Regions from separate parts of the Homo sapiens genome. Here region 2 is linked to region 1. The links are contacts of gene promoters, found by promoter capture Hi-C in blood cells and fetal thymus (Javierre and others, 2016). All regions are on one chromosome and are shown on one strand. The core of a region is centred on a gene start or on the middle of the fragment in contact, and the rest is flanking DNA. Distances in the headings are between cores, read along the strand shown. Region 1 holds the start of BTN1A1 (butyrophilin subfamily 1 member A1). Region 2 has its middle 11 kb from the start of H2BC15.

Evidence for each region. Contacts are between HindIII fragments. The CHiCAGO score rates a contact against its expected background, and 5 or more counts as called.
Region 2: a contact is called between a fragment that was not itself captured here and the fragment with the promoter of BTN1A1 in region 1, in 1 of 17 cell types (activated CD4 T cells). The highest score is 6.0, in activated CD4 T cells.

The regions. Positions count from the first base shown.
Region 1 is chr6:26,496,515-26,502,641 of GRCh38, forward strand. BTN1A1 (butyrophilin subfamily 1 member A1) reads left to right here and starts at 3,789. Exons shown (of 8, transcript NM_001732.3): 1 at 3,789-3,844; 2 at 4,716-4,851; 3 at 5,076-5,423. The coding sequence starts at 4,773. The region is part of intron 1 of LOC107986583 (a long non-coding RNA gene); the gene reads right to left. RefSeq lists an enhancer at 5,078-5,207. The HindIII fragment of the contact is 5,298 bases long and covers 1,095-6,127 here.
Region 2 is chr6:27,846,502-27,852,658 of GRCh38, forward strand. No RefSeq gene overlaps it. Among named protein-coding and RNA genes, the nearest start is that of H2BC15, 11 kb to the left of the region's middle. The HindIII fragment of the contact is 588 bases long and covers 4,473-5,060 here.

The DNA of each region.
Region 1 (6,127 bases), core at 2,539-5,038:
CACACCTGTATTCCCAGCAGTTTGGGAGGTCAAGGCAGCCAGATCACTTGAGGTCAGGAATTCAAGACCAGCCTGGCCAACACGGTGAAACCCCATCTCTACTAAAAGTACAAAAATTAGCCAGGCATGGTGGTGCATGTCTATAATCCCAGCTACTTGGGAGGCTGAGGCACGAGAATCGCTTTAACCCAGGAGGTTGTAGTAAGCCGAGATTGTGCCACTGCACTCCAGCCTGGGCGACAGAGTAAGACTCCGTCTCAAAATAAATAAATAGACTCAAATGGTTGCCTCAGTGATGAAAGTCAAGTAAGATGAGAACGAGAGTAACCATTGAATTTGACATGAGGATAACACTGAGAAATTTGAACAGATTATAGTGAAAAGCAGGGAGGGGAAACAAATGCTGACATTTTATCATTAGGTTCCATATGAAGCATATCATATTCCTCAGCCCAAATGATTTCATGTCTAAGAAGAAGAAGTTTTTGTTTCTATCTCGCAGTGGGCCTGGGAAGAGCAGGAACTTCCTAAGAGCAGCACCACTTCACAAGGCCTCTCCCATTCAGGAACCATGACAGGCAGGGGCATCCTAGGGGCATCCTAGAGGTTCTGTTCTCTAAACCTTGGGAAATTTAGAGATCCTGTCTTTCATTGTGTAAGACTGATGACTTGGTTTCTGTCAAAAAGACCCAGATGCTATCCAATCAAAATAGTGTCTGTTATGCAATAGCTTGAGCTCCAAGTACTTTCTTCTTCTTTCCCCCAGACCCTTTCTTTTCAGTATGGCTCCGTTAGTTGCAAGTAAAAGCTCTTTTTCCCCCCTGAAAACAATGTCTTATGAGAATATGAAGCATGAGACAAAAGTATCATTGAAAGGGGCTGATAAGAGAAGTGAAATGAGGAAGGGGAAATAGATTATAGGTGATATGATCAGAAAGTTAAGCATGAAGAGGAAAATGGGACAGGAGCCTTTCAAACTAGGAAGGCTAAGGAACGATGGGTTTGAATGAAGCCACAAATTCTATTTCAGTCTATGTGCTGATGAGAAGACAGGGAGTAAGAACTAGGAAAGCTCAGTTTAAGAGGGGAAGACAAGCTTGGAAACAAAAGATGACAATAAACACATCTGCTTCTGAAACTAGGGCTCAGATCAGGTGTCTGCCATGAGAAAGGGACCAAGTGTCACAGGATACACCTGGCCCATCTTCCAGGAAAGCCTACTTCTCTTGGAGGGGACAAAGGCTAATCAGGAGAAGCCCTAGAAGTGAGGTTGCATCTGCTTGATGCAATGTCTGAAAGACATTGCAGAAGGTGCAGCCCTTACATGAGCTTTTGAGGGAAGAATAGGAGTTCATCATAAAGATAAGAGGGAACAGGCTAGTCGCGGTGGCTCACACCTATAATCCCAGCACTTTGGGAGACCGAGGCGGGTGTATCACTTGAGGTCAGGAGTTCAAAACCAGCCTGGCCAACATTGGGAAACCCCACCTCTACCAAAAATACCAACAAAGCCAGGCGTGGTGGGGCACGCCTGTAGTCCCAGCTACTTGGGAGGCTAAGGCAGGAGAAATGCTTGAACCTGGGAGTCAGAGGTTGCAGTGAGCTGAAATTGTGCCACTGCCCTCCAGCCTGGGTGACAAAGTGAGACTCCATCTCAAAAAAAAAAAAAAAAAAAAGTTAAGAAGAGACAGAATATTCTGGAAGGGGGAAGGCAAGCACTGCTATCTGGAGGCCTGAGAGGCATTGTGGGTTGAGGTAACCACACCCACTCCAAATTCAGCCTGTGGGTGGACAAGCAGGGAAGGAGAAGGGGAATGGAGAAAAAGCCCTCAGGAAAGAAGCAAGGAGACTGCCAGAGTATTTTCTTGACCAGATCAAGCTAGACCTACAGTATTTTCCTAACCAGATTAAGGTGCATAAACTTGATGCTGAAGTCACTAGGGAGATGTGGAAGGATTTTTAAGCAAAAAGTGATATGATCAGATTTGCATTTGGGAAAGATCATTCTCTTGGCAGTCTGGTGGGTGAAATGGAGCAACTGTCTTTTGTCTTAATCACAATTCCAACTCAAAGATAAATAACAAAACTGGGAAGAATGTTTGTTACAAATATAATACAGGATTGATATTTTTAAGTTATTAAAATTCACACAGATTGCTAAGAACTAGCACCAGGACCAGTCTTGAAAACAATGGGCAACTGGCCTGAACAGCTCATTTCTAGAATGTATTAAATGTCTAATTAACACATAAAAAACTCCAGCCTCGCTAACATATAAAGGCACAATAAATAATAATTTAATTAACTTGACCCATCCCAATAGTAAGGATGTGAAATAATAACTTCTCAGTGCTAGCAGGGATTAGGTGAGGGCACCTCCATTGAGGGTGTGATGGATTCAACATTTCAGGAAGGGACTGTAGAAATATGCTGATACTAGGTCGGGCATGGTGGCTCACACCTGTAATCCCAGCACTTTGGGAGACCAAGGCAAGCAGATCATTGAAGCTCAGGAGTTCGAGACCAGCCTGGCCAACATGGTGAAACCCTGTCTCCACTAAAATACAAAAATTAGTTGGGCATGGTGGCACGTGCCTGTAATCTCAGCTACTCAGGAGGCTGAGGCAAGAGGAAAATCCTTTGAACCCTGGAGGCGGAGGTTGCAGTGAGCCAAGATTACGCCACTGCACTCCAGCCTAGGCGACAGAGTGAGATTCCGTCTCAAAAAAAAAAAGAAAAGAAAAGAAATATGCTTATACCATTTGATCTGATGACTCTATTTCTGGAAATTTATTAAACAGTTTATCAGGACATTATCCAATTTGCAAATAAAGACTTATATATAAAGTGTATTATTTACAATAGGAAAAAAATCCCAAATGTCCCACAATCATGGCAATTATACAACTATTAACAATATTTTGAGTTACACAAAAAGTCTAATTGATTGCTTTTATGATATACATAAGCATAAAATAAATCTTGGAAGGACTATGCCAAAATGTGAATTGAGGCTATCATTAGTTAGTAGATTAAGTGTGACCTCCATTTTATAAAAATATTTTTCTGTATTTTTAAATTTTTTCATAACAATGAGAGGTAGGTTTAGTATAAATTAAGGAATTGTAGGCCTCATGATGAGTTGCTTCAAAAGAAATAATTGTCAGGGAGGCAACTTTTGGGCCCTGTAAACAGAATTCACAGCCTACCCTTAAGACTGGCCTTTAATGGAGTTGTTCCAACAGACACAGCACCTAAGGTGGACGGACGCTCCAATAACGAAGATGGCTATAGACAGAGGCTACTGCTACCTTGGCCTCTGGGCTTTCATTTTTCAACCCGCAGAAATAATAATAGAATAACAATTTATCCTCCGCTGAGTTCCTACTATGTGCTAAGCACTTTACCTGCTTAATCTCACTTAATCCTCCCAACACCTCTTCAAGAAAGGTATGATCAATATTATTACCATTTTAGAGATCAAAGAACTGAGGCTTGGAAAGAGGAAATAACTGGCTGAAGCCATCACATCTCATTTGTGTGTTTCCTTGCCTCTCTTCTCTTTTTCTCTTTTCTGCCTTTCATTTGGTCCAGCTCATCAATGCATATCTTGATTTCTGAGCTGAAGACCACAAATCCAGTTTTCCATCTCTCTGAAAAACTTTTCATCTCCCTTTTTTTTTTCCTCAGAGTGAATATACCAGGCCACCTGGAGGCAGGCTTTCCTGAGAGCACCTCCCGCTTCCTTTTCCTGCTGGCTTTTAACTTTTGCCCCGGGGGCCACAGCCAGCTTTCTCACTTGGTAGCAGTGGCCTCTTGTGCCTTTTTCTCCAAGATCACCCAGGTCAGTATGTGTGGTTACTCTCAGCTCCCTGAGGGAGTGAGCAGCCAGAGGGGCATAGCATACTTCTCTCCCTCCAGCTCCTTTCTCCTTGGTCCTAGGCCCTCTACTCTTCAAGCCCTTTTGCTTGCTTCAGCTCCTGCTTCTTGCTCCATCTCCTCCCATCTTTTCTCTCTTCTCCAATTCATTTCCTTGGACTCCATTTCTGCCTTTATACCCTTATCTTTATTATCATTGCCAAAAGCAAATACCAAATTCTTGTATTTGAAAAAAGACTTTGGCCAGGCACGGTGGCTCACGCCTGTAATCCCAGCACTTTGGGAGGCCAAGGCGGGTGGATCACGAGGTCAGGAGTTCGAGGCCAGCCTGGCCAACGTGGTGAAACTCCGTCTCTACTGAAAATACAAAAAATAGCGGGGCATGGTGGTGCGCGCCTGTAGTCCCAGCTACTCCGGAGGCTGAGGCAGAACAATCGCTTGAACCCAGGAGGCTGAGGTTGCATTGAGCCGAGATCATGCCACTGCACTCCAAGCTGGGCAACAGAGCAAGACTGTCTCAAAAATAAATAAATAAATAAATAAAAAGGAGACTTTTTTTTTAGTGCAGTGATTCCAAGATTTGTTCATCGATATGCAACCAACTAATGAGTGTTATGCCTCACAGTTCCCTTCTCCTAAGTTTTAGAGTTAGAGTAGTGGGTGGGAAGGTGATAACCACAGTGTAAACTAAAAATCCATACTGGGGATGGAGGCTGAGAGGAGGTTTCAGGGGCAAATGACCAGAACACTTGCAGCTGGAAAGAACTGTAGAGAGGACTTTGGAAAGCGGAGGGTTGACAGAGCCGGTAGTTGTCTCCTGTCCATTCATCTCCTAGGCTGAAGCTCCTGAGGGGACTCACATCAGTTATCTTGCTGCTCCAGAAGGGTGGGAGATGGCAGTTTTCCCAAGCTCCGGTCTCCCCAGATGTCTGCTCACCCTCATTCTCCTCCAGCTGCCCAAACTGGATTCAGGTAAGTCTCTCTCTCTCTCTGGGCTGCATAGTTGAAATATATCAATAAATGTAAAATAAACAATCCCACTTGGCTCTCCCTGGAGACCTCCACTGGATCCAGACAAACTCAGCTGTCAAAGGAGTAAGAGAGCGCGGGGCACTGCGCTTTGGCGGGAATCTGGTCGGTGTCTGTCCGTAGTTCCCATCTCCACATCCCGTCTGATCCCGCTCGTTTTTCGGCAGCTCCCTTTGACGTGATTGGACCCCCGGAGCCCATCCTGGCCGTTGTGGGTGAGGACGCCGAGCTGCCCTGTCGCCTGTCTCCGAACGCGAGCGCCGAGCACTTGGAGCTACGCTGGTTCCGAAAGAAGGTTTCGCCGGCCGTGCTGGTGCATAGGGACGGGCGCGAGCAGGAAGCCGAGCAGATGCCCGAGTACCGCGGGCGGGCGACGCTGGTCCAGGACGGCATCGCCAAGGGGCGCGTGGCCTTGAGGATCCGTGGCGTCAGAGTCTCTGACGACGGGGAGTACACGTGCTTTTTCAGGGAGGATGGAAGCTACGAAGAAGCCCTGGTGCATCTGAAGGTGGCTGGTGAGTAGACGGGTTTTGACTTTCTCCGACGACTCCCCTGCTGTATACACTTTCGTATGGATCAGTTACTTTGGAAACCATCAGATTCATTCTCAAAATCTCTTTTAGGTTGATGTCGCCGGGGAGGGACGACTATCTGGGCGGGAGGCGAGGGGGGGTAAAAGAATTTACCAAGACAGTTGTAAAGAAAGGCAGATTTACTTTTAAAAGTATGAAAATACTTTTCGAGGAGGCAAAAGGCAGGATCAGCAAAAGAGAAGCTGACTGCCAGGAAACAAAGGCTTGCTGGATAATTTATAGAATAGTTTTTATGCTGTCTGTTGAAGATGGCTTTGTGCAGTATCTATAAGGCAAAGGTTGCAGTGAGCTAACTTGCAGGTGTTTGGTGATAGTTGGACACAGGAAGGATGACTGTGAGTTATTTGCACAGGAGGGCTGTGTACTGGACCATGAAGAAAGGCAGACTTGCAGCTTATCTGCCTTATCTCTTTGTTTTCCCCTGATTAGGACTCCACAGCTAGAAGGTACTGAAGGTCCTACAGTAGGAAATCAGTGAGAAAGGGTTTTGAGTTGAACATGGAGAGAACAGTGCAATGTCTTTATTGTAGAACTTTATTTCAATTATCTCCAGCCCTTTTTCAATAATAGGGTAAGCATTTCTTCATGAAATAATTAAATACATATAAGAGTTATATAACATTCTT
Region 2 (6,157 bases), core at 3,517-6,016, 1.4 Mb after region 1:
CAAAACAGATACCATCTTCCAGGGCTCAAGAAACACAATGCCCAGGCTGATTAGTTTAGATTTATGTGTGTGGAAAGGAAAGCATTGTTTTGAAAAGTGTCTTTGCTGGGCGCGGTGGCTCACCCCTGTAATCCCAATGCTTTGGGAGGCCGAGGCGGGCGGATCATGAGGTCAGGAGATCGAGACCATCCTGACTAACACAGTGAAACCCTGTCTCTACTAAAAATACAAAAAATTAGCCAGGTATGGTGGTGGGTGCCTGTAGTCCCAGCTACTCGGGAGGCTGAGGCAGGAGAATGGCGTGAACCCGGGAGGCGGAACTTGCAGTGAGCCGAGATTGTGCCACTGCACTCCAGCCTGGGCAACAGAGCGAGATTCGTCTCAAAAAAAGAAAAAAAAAAAGAAAAGAAAAGTGTTTTTAACAAGAAAAAAAGTGACATTTGGAGGTTTTAATTGGGCAGAAATGAACAGAGTAATAAGACTAGGAAAGAAGACTCCTTTGGCAGTAATCTAGGGATAAGTAATCCATACTGGGAGCCCTTTACTTTCCATTGCCAGTGCTGACCTACTCTGCACCCACCTCCTCTCTCCTGGTTATTACATAGCTTCTACCTGGTGTACCTGCTCCTATCTCTGTGCCTCTCCAGTCTGTGCTCCCCTCAGCATCCTGATAGCCTTCTAAAAGTTTCGGTCAGATCACCTGCTCCTTGACTCAGAAACTTCCAAAGCCCTTACCTTGCCCTATGAAGTTTTGCATACTCTGGCCCCAGTGATGTATTTGGCCTCATCTCCTAGGGCTGTCTTACTTGTTTCCTCTACTCTAGCTACCCTGGCCCCGTTGATGTTCCTCAAACTGCTGAGCATTGTGTCCCTGTGAGCCCCTCTACGTTATTTTACCTCTGACTGGAACACACCTCCATCATTTTTCCCTCACTTCCTGCAAGTTGCTGTCTAAAGGTGACTGTTCCACATTTTTGTTATGATAGAGGGTCCTTATTGGTACCATGTGAGAAATTACCTTGATGCCCTGGTAGGCTCCAAGTATAGTCCCATGCAAGCTCTCCCAGAGGACACAGCACAAATAGGTTTGCAGACTATGCAGTGAAATGCTCAAATCACAGCTTCATTAAAAAACATAGCAAGCAGCAAGGGGAAAAAGAAGAGCAAGTTAATGGTTTAGTGTGTAAGTGAATTGGAAGAACCACACTATCTGACTCAAGTGTGAGCAGTTTCCGTATATCTGATCTCTTTTACATCGCTCAATCAGCCTGTAGGATAGACACAGAGATATATATGCCTGGACCCAACCAATTAGTTGGTTGAATAGCCATGGATTTTATTTTTGTTCCTAAAGTAGAGAACTTATGGTGTCTCCAATTTGTGGCTGACTCAAGGCCTCATGAATAATGAGTCAGTGCTTCGATGTCTCATATATCTGTGAATTCTGAATGTGTGGCTCCTTTTGTATATTTTGTGCATCAGGAACATTAGGTATCTTTTGACCCTTCCATCCCTTATATCTATATTTAACAACATATGCTCTTTTTACTAACTACTTATGTCTACTTAAAACATCTTAAGCATTTTTGCCTACATTTTACTAACTAAAAGCATATTTATCTTTTATAATAGAATTGCTCATTTACAAAAGTAAATATGTGTTACAATCCATATCATTTATTGGTGTATCCCTGACATATAGTAGGCACTCAATACATATATGGAATGAGAGAATTGTGCTTTCTCTCTCCCTTTTCGCCTTCCCCTCCTCCTGCTTTTTCTCCTACTCTCACACTGTCTCTCTCTCTCAAACACACACACACACACACACACACACACACACACACACACATTGGACAGGAATCCCAGAGATCTGGGTTCTGGCGTGACAGCATGTTTTTCACAAATACTTCTTGGTTTCCATTCCTTCAAATGTAAATAAAGGTAGGGTTTAGTAAGATGATCTTTGAGTTTCCTTCCAGGATTCAGAGTTTCATCAATAATTTCTTTATTCCTTTGCTCTACAAGGTTTCTTTGTGCTGTGGCTTTAATGTAGCCTATCAAACACATTTCAACAAAATCAAAAGCCTTTTGTTTTGCCCATCACCATTTCTAGGAGGATCACTGCCAAGATCCCAAAGTAGAGGAAATTTTTCCTATAGAACATAATTGAATTTTGTATTAAGCAAGCTAAAACCAGAGAAAGATTAGATTTTAAAACCTTTAAAAGTGAAGCTAGGAGAGGTGCCTCATGTCTATAGTCCCAGCTACTTGGGAGGCTGGAGTAGGAAGATAGCTTGAGCCCAGAAGTTCAAGGCTGCAGTAAGCTAGGATGGCCCCACTGCATTTCAGCCTGGGTGACTAGCTGGACCACATTACTTAAAAAAACAAAACAAAATGTACACAATCTTTAAAAGTGATATGAAATCAAAACAATAACAGATTTATAGGTAAGTCTACGGAAGTTTCCAGAGCTGTCTTTTTAATTACCAGAAAAACTAGAATAACATTCTTATGAAAGGATTAAACAACAATTGAATAACATTATGGATTGCCATCATTGTAAAAAACAAGAATTAAAAGGCAATATAGGCTAGACACAGTGGCTCACACCTGTAATCGCAGCACTTTGGGAGGCCAAGGCGGGCGGATCACCTGAGATCGGGAGTTCGAGACCAGCTTGACCAACATGGAGAAACCCCATCTCTACTAAAAATACAAAATTTGCCAGGTGTGGTGGCGCATACCTGTAACCCCAGCTACTCGGGAGGCTGGGCAGGAGAATCACTTGAACCCGGGAGGCAGAGGTTGCAGTGAGCTGAGATCGTGCCATTGCACTCCAGCCTGGGCCACAAGAGCAAAATTCTGTCTTAAAAAAAAAAAAAGGGGGGGGGCAATATATAGTTGTTTATGTATTTCTTATCTATTTAGCTACTAAACTTCTGAAAAACATCTTGTTACTCAAGAACAAAAAAATACACTATTTGACCAATTAACCACTTACTGCGGTATTTCCCTTTTGTTCAAATTGCATATGAAGGTACATATTGGTGACCTAATTTGTTTAATTTGCAATATTCCCAAGATAAAAACTAGTGGTTGCCCATTAAAAGTCTTTCAGGCTGTGGTCTTGAGATATGGAAAGGAGAGGCACTTTGAATTTTTGCTTAAAGCCTCGCATTCAAAGCTAAATAGGTATGGACTATATCTTTCTGGAAGCCATATTATATTAGACACTACTTTACAAATAATAATTTTAGTTTAATATGTTATACTAAAACATAGATACAAACTATTTCCCAGAGGATTTCTTCAGATGCTTAGAATGAAGAAAAGTATCCATTAATATATTAAGGGATTTTTTTGTGTGTGTTTTAATTTCTTAAGGCTATGTTTTATATCATGTTTGCTTTAATAGTAGAATTAATACAGAATATAAAACTGAGAGTATAGACATGGCCTATTCATGCAGAAATTCAAGTTTTACATAGGACTAGGATGTCCGGTAATTATAACTTCTAAAGTCTCTGCACTTTTCAAAGAAAAAAAACCTGTAAATTTACATCTCAATTACCTTAATTAATATTAGAAGTTTGTGCATGTGAAGTGAATATATATGTGGAGTTGCACCTAAAATACATTATAGCCCAAGTATACTAGTATCGTTTACTAGTTGGTTCTTGTGAAATGGTGTTTCAAGAATATTGAACTATATAAATAATTGCACTAAAATTTTGGAGATAGCATTGTAAATATTACACTGGACTTTAAAAAATAATTCTAGATATTAATTTTAATGCTTTGTAGCTTGATCATAATTTAATTACTTTTTCCAGCATTTTAAATCGACATCTTGAAAATAAACTGTAGATTATCAACAAATTCTGTGTATATTAAGGTATTTATATGTGGCCACATTATTGTATGCTCATGAAGCTCATCTCAGCAGCAAGGTGGAGAATACAGATAGGTCCAATCTTTTGATGGTTTAGCTACATATTCTGTGAGCCAAATGACACACTTTACACATACATACACTCAATTTATTATTCATATTATATTTAACGGAGTTAATGGAATAATAATAAACTGAACATCAATGATACCTTTGTAATTTTGTTGTTCTCTTGGAGTAAGAGTGTTAGAAAATTAAAATTCCATTTCATTTTCTTTTCAAACAACTGCTATACACATAATAAAAACTGGGAGGCATCATTTAGAATTATAAAGTACAAAAAAAACCCACGGTAACTACATGCATTTATTAGCTGTGGAGTATATTAGTTGTCCTAAAAGCTCAATGTAGAATGTTAAAGTCACTACTGTGACTTTAATAATACGTGGATAAAAGTCCATTGTGTGCGTTCTAAAATTTTAAATAATATTGTTCTTTAAACACGTTATTTAAATTAACCCACAATATAGTAAATTAACCTTGGTAAGGGAATTGTTTTTATGACAGAGAAGAATGAAGCTTTTTGATCGTGAAGAAAAGTGAGTTAGATTTAAAAAGGAAAACTTTTTAGGAAGGATAAAGGACATTCAGTGAAAGGAGTAACATGCACTCATCCTCTAAAAACAGTGTTCTTTGATATGTGAGAGAGGAGGAAATAAAAGAAAAAAAGTCAGTGTTTTAAATCTGTCACTAAATATCATCTAAAAGTCCCATAAGTCAACCAGGTGCATCAGTGCACACAGAAAACAATGTAACGTAAACCGTAGTGTAGATATTTTTAGTTTCTAGTCAAGAACCCAACGTTCTTGAAGAGGATCCAATTACAAGTTTTGGGGAATAGGAAATCCTAATGAGTGTAGGACATCATGCTGACGGAAGGTGAGGATAATCTCAGATGTCTGGAGAAGCAATAAAAAGTAAGTTAGGGCAGGAGAGAGGCAAGAAAGCCTGAAAGAATCCCCACTAATAATTAGTATGGCTAACTTGAGAATTTTAGTTAAACAGAACACTTACAGTTGTCAATTGGAATAGATTCAGCATGTAAAATGCCAGCAATCCATGATGATAATCAATTGGAACAAACAGTATGATGAGCTGAATAAGAAGCTTACACTGTGTTCTAGGATTTGTCTTCTCCTAGGTCATTGTGCCCTACATCTCTGAGATGAGCATCATGCTCTCCAGGAGGGTCCCATCCTTCCATTTGTAAGGTTCTATTGTATTTACCTTGGGGAAAACTCCACCTCCCACCAAGCTGTAGAACAAGGTTCAAAAGAGAGCTCCCTGGAAAACTCCTTGGTGCTTTGTTCACTGAAATGTTATGTTAGGAGAGCTTATTTCATCTTAGTGGCTGTCATTGCTGGGAATCCAAACTCTAATTCCCAAGGCATTCTCAAATTATCATCTGCATCAGCTTCTGCCATAGCCATCCCCACCAGTGTCACCAACAATATTGTTACTAAGAAAATAATTTTCAAAAAATGTTTGCTTTTTTTTTTGTCCTAAGGACAGTGATTTCTATAATGGCAACAATTGCAGTTAATTTCAAAATGTGGTCTGGGGACCCCTGAGGCCCTTGTAGTGGGTCTGTGGGCTAATATTATTTCATACTAATTCTGACACTAATTTTTCTTTTTCATTATTATTTTCAGATGACATTTATATTGCAAGAGATTGAATGCAGAAAGAAGAATTCAGCTTTCTTTTATTAAACAAGGCATTAGAGAGATTTGCAAAATTGTAAAACAGTGTCACTCTTTTTATTTTAAAAAATAGCTATTTTTCATAAAATATGTATGCTAACATAAAATGGGTTTATTACTGTTATTTTTAAATGAATTAACCAAATTTTTTTGTTTTACTATATAATACGGTAAATGTCAATAGTTATAACCTACAGAAACACAAATTCTTTGGATTGCAAAGCTCCACCACCTAATATGCTATAGATCAAGGTTCAAAAGAGAGCTCCCTGGAAAACTCCTTGGTGTTTTGTTCACTGAAATATTATTTAAGGAGAACATATTTTATTTTAATGACTGTCATTGCTGGCATCCGAACTCTAATTCCCAAGGCATCCTCAAATTATCATCTGCATCACTTCATTACTTTTTAAGAGTGTAAGTGGGTCATGAGACCAGAAGGTTCAAGAACTGCTGCCTTAGGGTATATACCACACTAGTAATGTTCATTTGTGTTCAA